Linked DNA regions of Homo sapiens: region 1 is linked to region 2. Evidence: promoter capture Hi-C in 16 types of primary human blood cells and fetal thymus (Javierre and others, 2016). All regions are on one chromosome and are shown on one strand. The core of a region is centred on a gene start or on the middle of the fragment in contact, and the rest is flanking DNA. Distances in the headings are between cores, read along the strand shown.

Region 1 (5,176 bases), core at 531-3,030, 5.8 Mb after region 2:
GGTGCAGCATAGTTGGGTGAGCCACAACTTGTTCTTAAAAATTCACCATCTGACATCATGTTTGAAAGACCTGAAAGTGCACAAAATCAGCTACTCAAAAGATTTCCCAAAGACAAAAATTAAAATCCCATTAAACAATAAAATTGAGTTTGCATTAAAATGATAAATCATCATTTTGTTATTTGCTTCAACAAAATCCTATGGTCTATTGTAGCCAAATATTCTGCCATTATGCCCTAAAATGTGTAATCTATTTCAACATTTAAAGTTAGTGCACTGTTAGAGTTTAATACAAATATATTAAGCTGTTGGTTATTTTGCTTATTAGAAAAAACTTGCCATGTTTAAGTTTTATTAATACAGAAATCACTAGGGAAAATAATCTATAACAGATGAATAGAAGGATTAAAATTCAAAGTTCCTATTAAGCCTGTTCTGATTCTTTAAAAAAAAAAAAAAAAAAAAAAACAGTAATTTTGAATTTCAAAGTTCCCTCACAGTTTTACTCCAAAAAGAAACTGTTGCTCCCTCAAAAATGCACCCTATAAAAATAATCAACTGAGGAATAAGAAATTCAAATAATTTAGCCAATTACTATTTTAAAAAAAAACAAAACACCAAAACAACCAGCTCAGGTTTGGTTGGCATTTTCCAGTTAATCTCTGAACATTTAAATAGATATAGTTATAGATATAGATACATAGATGTAGTCAAAACTGAGGAAAATTTTTATAAGAATGTTCTCTGGGCCAGACATGGTGGCTCACGCCTGTAATCCCAGCACTTTGGGAGGCCAAGACAGGCGGATCACTTCAGCTCAGGAGTTCGAGTCCGGCCTGGCCAACATAGTGATTCCCCATCTCCACCAAAAATTAAAAAAAACATAGCTGCATGTGGTGGCCCACATCTGTGGTCCCAGCTACTTGGGAGGCCAAGGTGGGAGAATTACTTGAGCCTGGAAGGCAGAGGTTGCAGTGAGCCGAGATCGTACCACTCCAGCCTGGGTGACAGAGTGAAACTCTGTCTCAAAACAAAAAACAAACAAAAAAAAGTTATCTGATTTGAACTAAAACCAACCTAAAGAAAAGAAGAGATTCCTTTTTCTCTTAGGTTTAGTAAGGTCAATGGCAATTTATATAGGAAATACAGAAAAAATAAATTCTTTTTTTTTTTTTTTTTTTTTGAGACCGTGTCTCACTCCGTCGCCCAGGCCGGACAGGCGATCTCAACTCACTACAACCTCCACCTCCTGGGTTCCAGCAATTCTCCTGCCTCAGCCTCCAGGGTAGTGGGGACTATAGGCACGCACCACCATGCCCAGCTAATTTTGTATTTTTAGTAGAGATGGGTTTTCACCATGTTGGCCAGGCTGGGCTCGAACTCCTGACCTCAGGTGATCCGCCCGCCTCGGCCTCCCAAAATGCTGGGATTACAGGTATAAGCCACCACGCCCAGCCAAAATAAATTCATTTTTAACAATCAAAATGTTCTTTAAACAAATTATAATTTACTATCATTTAAAACATTTTTAAATTTTTAAATAAATTTTTTTAATTAAAAAATTGTTTTAAATAATTTTAAATAATTAAATTCACATAGTTCACTTCTGGTTTTTAAGGTTTTAAATAATTCCATCCCACTCACTTTCCTTCTTCTCCATACTTGATTCTTTTGAACATACTGGAAATAAAGCTGCTACCTTCTCTTTCACAAATAATACTCTTTTCAAATAGTCTCTCTAATACTACCAACTTAAGTTGTTTAAAATTTAATTTTAAAGATATTTAAAGAGCCAGGTGCAGTGGTGCACACCTGTAATCCCAATACTTTGGGAAGCTGTGGTAGGAAGATCACTTGAGGCCAGGAGTTCAAGAGCAGCCTGGACAACATAGTGAGAACTTGTCTCTACAAAAAGACAAAACAGCCTGGCATGGTAGTGCACGCCTGCAGTCCCAGCTACTCAGGAGGCTGAGGCAGGAGGGTCACCTGGCCCAGTAGTTTGGGGATGCAGTGAGCTATGATCACGTCGCTGCCCTCCAGCCTGGGCGACAAAGCGAAACCCTGCCTCTATAAAATAATAGTAATAAAGACATTTAAAGCTAAGAAAAGATGATTTCTTAGCTTTTCTTCTTTTTGTATCTTCATAGACAAAACAGAATACTTTGATATACTCAGTCTATTACTTTATGTAATCTTTTACAGTTATCTGAAGAATTCTAGGTAGGTTCATTGAAACTATAAGAACATTAGAAATGAACGTTAAGAAACTATAAAATTATCCTTACCAAAATCAGCTATCTTTGCATTCATGTGTGCATCAAGCAGGACATTTTCAGGTTTCAAATCTCTATGGACCACCATATGCCTGTGACAATAATCCACACCAGAAAGGATCTGTTGGAACAGACGCCGACTTTCTTTTTCATCCAGCTAAGAAAAGTTAGAGAGGCTTTTTAAAGGTGTGTCTTTCAAAGTAAATTGTCCTATCTATAATTCTCCAACCTATAAAATTGTCAAAATACATGAAAATCTTCCCAATGAACTTCACTTATGAGATACTTTTGACATGAGGAGGAGATACCTGCAGCACAAAACAGAAATGCTAAGATGGTCTTGGAACCCAAATCAGTAACTCAAGTTTCTAATATTATCATTTGCATATGACTACATTGTAACAGCTTGCCTTCCTCTATATCTCATGAGTTATTTCAAATAATTTCAATATCTACTTGAAATTTGGCATATTTCCTTTTATAAGCGGCAAATGTTTACTCTTTCATTCTTTTAACAAATTACTGAATACCTTCAACGTGCTACACATTGCTTTAGACACTCATTACACAGCAATGAATAAAACAAAGGCTAATCTAGTTGATGAAAATAGACTAATAAATATAGTCAGAAGGAGTGATACTGTTTTGAAGAAAAATAAAGCAAAATATAGGTGCAGTGAGTGATAGTGGGGTGAGGGACACTATTTTAGACCATGAGGAAGTAATATTTAAGCACTATTCATAAACCAGCAAGCAACTATGTTGCTATATGTCCTAAAATAGAAGACATTTTAACAACAAACACCTTAATTCATTTAATAAAATATCATAGCATTTTATCTTTAATATGCTTGCTAAAAAAAAAATCTTACATAGCAACTACCTTTTCATTTTTGTTTTTTGTGTTTTTTTGGGGGGGCGGGGTTTTAAATTTATCTATATTTTGAGATCCAGTCTCGTTCTGTCATCCAGGCTGGAGTGCAGTGATGCCATCACGGCTCACTGCAGCCTCGGCTTCCCTGGGGTCCCGCAATCCTCCCACCCCAGCCTCCTAAGTAGTTGGGACCACAGGCACATGCCACCACGCCCACTAATTTTTGTATTTCTGATAGAGACAGGACTTTGCCATGTTGCCCAGGCTGGTCTCGAACTCCTGAGCTCAGGCAATCTACCGCTTCAGCATCCCAAAGTGCTGAGATTACAGACATGTGCCACTGCATGCAGCCTGAAGTATTTTTTTTAAACTTCTCTATGTATCCATATATTATTACCACTTTTTTCAACATAAGTGACAGCCATTACTTGGACATGCCTGCTCCCAAGAAGTCATATTTAATAAATAAGCTATTAATCCTCTAGGCGAAGGACTCCAATATGCAATTCTCTAACACAGGTCACAAATTAGCATTCTAAAACCAGACTTACACCTTAAAGGGCATGGATAATATGGGAGAAAATACAAATCAGTAATTTATTTTGAAACAAGAAACTATTATAAGATACCATTCCTCTAGAAAAATACTAATCCTTTAGCATTCTAATACTTTTATTTCTAGATTTGTAGGTTCATGGGGAAAAAAAAGAGTATCTGTTCAAATATGAAAAAATAGGAGAAAACTTGATTAAACAAAATATAAAAAGTAAAATAGACAGGCTACAAAAATGAAAATTATACTGTATTAGTAACAAGTACAATTACAAAGGATGGAGAAAGGGATGTCTATAAAGGAAGGTTAGAAAAGTCAAAATACATTTCCAATTAAATGTAACAGATTAAATCTTTTGTCTCCAACTCTTGAAACATCACTAAAATGACATCAGCAATAAAACAGGCATATAAAGACAAAAAGAACAAAAGAGACAGCAGTAATCAAGAGGAGTCACCAAGGATGACAATAGATAAACAGTAATAAAGACTAAGCCTACAAGAGAAAGCTAAAACCTAAGCCTATAGGGGTAGAAACCAGTAAAAAATAAACATCTGCATACAAAGCCTGGGAAGCCTTAGAAATTGGAAACACAGGGAACTGCTCAAGGTAGAAGTGAGAGATGAGCTGAAAACAGGACAAGTGCTTGAAGTAAGAAGCTTTTAAACTCACCCATATTGGGGAATAAGACCTATAATTTACTCTAGTAAGGCTGAACCAGCTCTGCTCTCAAGGACACCAAGGCAGGGATAAGGCATCCTAAGGAAAACATGGGGGCTAAGACAAAGTCAACATACTAACTAGTGAGACTTGCATCTCTTTTCTCCACTCAGCTCCTGGAGCACTGGCAGCTAAGCTAAGGCCTTTAAGGAAATGGGAAGGTTTCTTCTGGAGCAAATATCTGATCCAAGAAAACATATTTGTTATTATTAGCATTTGGTATACAGTAATAAAACAGACAAGTCCCTACCTATTCAAGCTATGAGAAAACCCAGCAATCAGTAAGTCCTACCCACATGAGCCTGGCATTTAATACCCTATTCTTAAATATTTAGTGGACAGCCAAGAATCACCAAATATCTGAAGAAGGGCCATGCATCAAAGACAAAAATGAATAAAATGAATGCAGAGAGCACAGAAGGTACAGAACAAGACGGAACAGAGGAAGACTTTTTTTAAAATGCCATCCTCAGACTAGGTTATTATATCTGTGAGGCAAATAACAGCAGACTAAAAAAATGAAAATTTCAGAAAATAAGAAACTTTTGAAATAGAAAATACGGGTGCTGAAATTTTAATATTCAACTGGTAAAACTGAAGAAATACCCACAAGGTAAAACCAAGAAATAAACAACAACAGAAAAGATAAGAAAAATATATATCAATTGTGCCTGTTTCCCATTTCTCCAGGCAGAATTTTTTTTTTTTTTTTTTTTTTGGTAAGGAGAAGCAGGAGTAAAGGGGAGTACCTGAAAT
Region 2 (5,086 bases), core at 734-3,233:
CATTGTGGAGTTTTGGTGTAATTTCCAATTTCACAATTTTCAATTAACAGTTTCCATAATAGAGATATCCTTATATCTCAAATTCCCTTTCACAATTATATGGATATCTTATTTGAGAATTCTTCTGGAATGGATCATCTCTAAAGTCTGGTCATTTAAAGGGCACCAGTTTAATAAAAGATGTTCCTTTATTTATTAGCGGCAGGGTCTTGCTCTGTCACCCAGGGCTGTAGTGTGGTGGTGTGGTCATAGCTCACTGCAGGCTCTAACTCCTGGGCTCAAGTATTCCTGCCTCAGCCTCCTGAGTAACTAGGACTACAGGCCCACGCCACCATGCCTGGCTTTTTTTTTTTTTTGTAGAGACAAGTTCTCGCTATGTTGCCCAGGCTCGTCTTGAACTCTTGGGCTGAAGGGATCCTCCTGCCTCGGCTTCCCAAAGTGCTGGGATTACAGGCATGAGCCACCACGCCTGGTCAAGATGTTCCTTTAGACTGAAATTTATATCCAGCATAGTTACCTTTAATTATACAATGTTACAGGCAAAAATCCTTCTTACTTCAGAAGGTAAAAGAAGTAAGTGATTCCTACAGGCTGTATCCAAAACCAAATCAAGTTGGAGGGAGAAAATACTCCAAATTAAGTTGGAGGGAAAAAAATACTTTCCCTTTCCGTTTTTTTTTTTTTTTTTGTCCCTCCCTTCCCCCCGCCCACCATCCCAATTCTGTTCTCAGGAGGGGAAAGGTTTCATTCTCCCCCAAACTCAGACTTCTCAATCCTTATCCATTACCAATTTACCAACTAACTGAGACTGTGTAGAATCTTCCTCTGGAAAAAAGGGAAGTGTATGAATTCTGAGTAGTGAGTTGGTTGGTCAGTGGCGTGTGAAGTAACCTGATGAAGCTTAGCGTGGGTTTTTTATTTTACTGGGGGCAGCATATTGGGGAAGAGAAGGATAACCTTACTAAACCGCTTGGGTACGCCAACCCTGTGCAATAGATATTAGCAACATAGCTAACCATACATGGTTAGTAAATACAACCCACACCTAACTGATGCATGTAAACATTCCACATTACAGTGAAATATATTGGTGTATTAATGCATTTTAATAATTATGGTATTATTTTGATACCTTTCAAAGTGTTTGGAATAATTGTGCAGATAGTCAGATCAACCAAAACCTACCAGTTAAATACTATCCTTTAACTGCTTTCTTAACCTAAACCAATCTTGGAAAGGTAGGATTAGAGGCCAGAAAGTTAGGATTAAAGTGTGTTGGATGGATAGATCAGCACAATTTCATCCATGTTGGTGGTAAGGCTTTTCATTAAGTGTGTTGATGCTTCCCTTTTAAATTGTTTCCGCTTAAATAATCTAACTGTCCTTTCTCAAGCATATTGGTCAAGATGATCAATACCAGATATCTTAAGTGGCAGCTGAAGAGAATTAAAGAGATTAAAAAAAAAACCTGATATTCAGTCCAACCGAATTCTGCTACTGTATTAGCTGAGGAGGCTTGAGCCAACCACTTGACCACTTGGAGTCTGAATCGCCTTATCTATAAAAACGGGGATCCATTGAGAAATTATAATCAGATATTTTCCAGAATCCTCTCCCATCCCAGCTCCTATCTCCCCCTTCAGCCCTCAGGTCGGCTGCCACTCACACTGACCGCCATCTGTGCCCCTCACAATGACACCAGCGTGGCCCTGCCTCCCTTCCGCGCGGCCCCGCCTCTCGCCCCGCCGAGGCCCCGCCTCTCACACCAAGGTCCCGCCTTCCTCCTGTTCTTCCCGGCCAAGGCCTACCTTCCTCCCACGCGGCCCGCCTCTTTCCCCGCCAAGCTCCCGCCTTTCTCCTGCGCGGCCCGCCTCTCTCCTCGCCAAGGCCCCGCCTTCCTTCCTCGGGGCCTCGCCTCTCACCCCGCCGAGGCCCCACCCCCTCCCGCGCGGCCCTTTCCGGCACAGAGCCCACCCCTAGCCCATGCGAAGCGGCGGCCGCCGGCACCGCCCCCGCCGCGCTCCCGCTTGCCGCAGCCTGCGTCGTCTGCCGCCACCGCGCGCCTTCACTGACCTACACCACCGCCGCCGCCGCCGCCGCCGCCGGGCTCGCTGGCTGGCCCGGTGCGGGCGGCGGACTCCCGCCGGAGAGGACTGCCAGCGCCGCCGCCGCCGCCGCTTCGGCCCGGGCCCGGGCCCCGACCCCGTCCCGGGCCCCAGCGCCGGCCGCCCGCCCGGTCGGGCGATGAAGTGTCACTATGAGGCGCTGGGGGTGCGGCGCGACGCCAGCGAGGAGGAGCTCAAGAAGGCCTATCGGAAGCTGGCCCTGAAATGGCACCCGGGTAAGTACCTGTCCCGCAGCCCCCGCGGCCACTCGGAGAAGCCCGGCCCTCCCCGACCTTCCCTTCCCCCGGGCGGACTCCGCGGAGCCAGCAGAGAGGGACCTGGCGGCCTAGGAGCTCCTTGCCCCGCCCGGCCAGTGCCCGGAGCCGCCCTGCCCGTCTCGGTGGGCGAAGCGCTCTGCCCTGGCGCACCCCGGCTCACACCCCATCTCCTCATACCCGCGACCCCGGCCCCGCATCGCCACTGTAGGGGGAAAACTGCAGTCCAACAACCTCACTTGCTCCCGCTACCGGGTCGCAGACACCACGAGGGAGCAGTCGGGAACTCGGAACTCAGACCTGCCCCAGGCTTGCTTTTCCCTGCGTCCCTTGCAGCGCAGCCTCTCGGTGTTTTTCCTCCGCTGCCCTCCACCTCGTCCGGGAATCCCAGATACTTCAACCTGATGTATGGCTCTTTTCGTTTCTTAGTTAAGAAGTTAAGACACGGGAGCTAGTAAAATATCTTTTCAATAGGGATGCGCTTTTTTCGCTGTTTTTTTTTTCTTTTAATAAGCTGTTTAAGCAGACCTTGTACTTCACTTTGGACATGATTCTGCCGGGGAAGGTTTTAATCAGGCGGCTTCCCCAGTAAAGTTTGTATGTTTACTTAGAAGTATCCTTCCTTTGGATGTTTCATTGGTCTGTAATCCAGGCCTGTGTGACTTTTATGAAGTAATCTGATCTTCCAGGCTGGGAAACTAAGAGAGTAGTTGACTTTCAGCTTTTTGAGGTTCATATGAAGAGGCTTTCATATTAGCATTCATCAGTAAACACGGTTACAGAGTATCCAATATATGCAAGTCACTGCACTCTACTAAGTAGATTTGGAAATGCTGAGACAGGGGTCTTAGAGTCTTGTTAGGAAAACAACTTTCTGCCTTACACAAATGAAAAGTTAAATACAACTGCCAGAAAAAAATCGCAACATACATAATTGGTGGTTAGATTAATGGAACAACTAATATATGCTCCAGGAATTCAGGGAGGGAGTTACCATTTTGTATTGAGTCTTCCCCTTCTCAGAGGAGTTTGGACTGGATCGTAGAGGAATGCAATTTGGAAAAGTGAACTCAACAGTATGGAGGATAGCATGGTGGAGGACAAAAGATGTTCCGGGGGACAGTTTGACTGAAGGTGGTGTGTATTGCAGGTCTGAAAAATAGGGATTATGAGAGGAGTGGAAGGAAAGGTCAGGGACCCAAAGTCAAAAGGGAATGGCTATGGTGATGGAGTGAGAGATAGAGGTGTGGGTCTGTTACTTAAAGTTATGCTTACCAACAGAGGCGTGAAAAAATGTGATTATAAATATATTAGAAGAGCAGAAGTAAATGAACTGATGTTCATCATAGCAGTAAGTCAGAAGATACAGCCAAAATTAATAAATGTAAAAATAGTGTAGAAGTATATTCTTAGAGTTTGGGTTAGTGTAGAAGCATATTCTTAGGAGTTTGGGTTGTTACTGTTAGAAATCAAGTTAGGAATTAGAAGGAAGTTCGGAATTCCTTGACTTTCTAGGTGGGAAAGGGTAAATGAAGTAGCGAATGCTGTGACCAAAAGCGTATGTAATTTTCTGAAGAGTGATTTTAAATCAGATTGTATTTCTTGAGTACAAGAGTAGTTTGAAATCAGATTGTATTTCTTGTAATCTTGAATATTAGCCCAAGGACTGTGAAATTTGCTTCGCTAAATAAGGGAGAGTTGTGGCTGGTTTTATTAAGCTGCCATGGGAGAGTACTATGAAGGCAACTTAGTGGATTGAAGAGGGCTGGAGACAGAAGTTAGGGAGAGTCCGCAGTGGACAGACAGGTAAGGGCCCAAGCCAGGCTTGGGGTCAGCGGGAGGGGGAAAGCGCAAGGGGAGGAGATGTTGGGAAGGAAAAATGACCAGATTTGGTGATTAATTAGAAATCAGTGCTAGGAAGAAGCATGCAAATATGACTAAAGTATCAGTTAACTCCTTTGAAACCAAACCTGTTAGGAACTGAATGCAAATATCTTCTCTAAATATCATCATAATTTATGGCATCAGTGTGATGGTATCTGAGAATGGGCAGCAGGAAGCCCTGAAGAGCCATGTTCTAGGGCGGCAAAACTATTTGTAGATAAGACATTGCTGTCATGTTTTCTTGTAACTTCTTAGAAGGGAAGTATTGAGCTGTAGCTTAAAGAACTTTAGTGTGCTCCGGCCAGGTGCGGTGACTCACACCTGTAATCCCAGCACTTTGAGGGGCTGAGGTGGGCGGATCACCTGAGGTCAGGAGATGGAGACCATCCTGGCCAACATGGTGAAACCCTGTCTCTACTAAAAACACAAAAATTAGCTGGGCGTGGTGGCGCACGCCTGTGGTCCCAGCCACTTGGGAGGCTGAGGCAGGAGAATCGCTTGAACCCAGGAGGCAGAGGTTGCAGTGAGCCAAGATCGCGCCACTGCACTCCAGCCTGGTGACAGAGCGAGACTCCATCTCAAAAAAAAAAAAAAAAACGAACTTTAGTGTTCTCCATAGTCAATTCAAAATGCTTTACGTTCTGAATATATTAGTTGTCTATTGCTGTGTAACAAATTACCAATACCTCAGGGCTTAAGACAACAAACAACAAAAACAGCAAGCCTATGTTGACTATATGGACTCCCACAGTTTCTAAGGATGAGAATCTGGGAGCGGCTTTGCTAGGTGGTTTTGGCTTTCTCATTGTCTGAAAGAACCTG

Evidence for each region. Contacts are between HindIII fragments. The CHiCAGO score rates a contact against its expected background, and 5 or more counts as called.
Region 1: a contact is called between a fragment that was not itself captured here and the fragment with the promoter of DNAJC21 in region 2, in 1 of 17 cell types (neutrophils). The highest score is 5.3, in neutrophils.

Annotation. Positions count from the first base shown.
Region 1 is chr5:40,769,434-40,774,609 of GRCh38, forward strand. PRKAA1 (protein kinase AMP-activated catalytic subunit alpha 1) reads right to left here. Exons shown (of 9, transcript NM_006251.6): 4 at 2,286-2,430; 5 at 1-70. The region is part of intron 1 of LOC124900968 (a long non-coding RNA gene); the gene reads left to right. Among named protein-coding and RNA genes, the nearest start is that of TTC33, 16 kb to the left of the region's middle. The HindIII fragment of the contact is 5,154 bases long and covers 1-4,357 here.
Region 2 is chr5:34,927,576-34,932,661 of GRCh38, forward strand. DNAJC21 (DnaJ heat shock protein family (Hsp40) member C21) reads left to right here and starts at 1,984. Exons shown (of 12, transcript NM_001012339.3): 1 at 1,984-2,341. The coding sequence starts at 2,245. It overlaps LOC124900961 (a long non-coding RNA gene), which reads right to left and starts at 2,106. Exons shown (of 2, transcript XR_007058731.1): 1 at 2,074-2,106; 2 at 1-1,558. RefSeq lists silencers at 1,660-2,129, 2,140-2,209, 2,240-2,439 and enhancers at 2,468-3,113, 2,580-2,749. The HindIII fragment of the contact is 5,598 bases long and covers 899-5,086 here.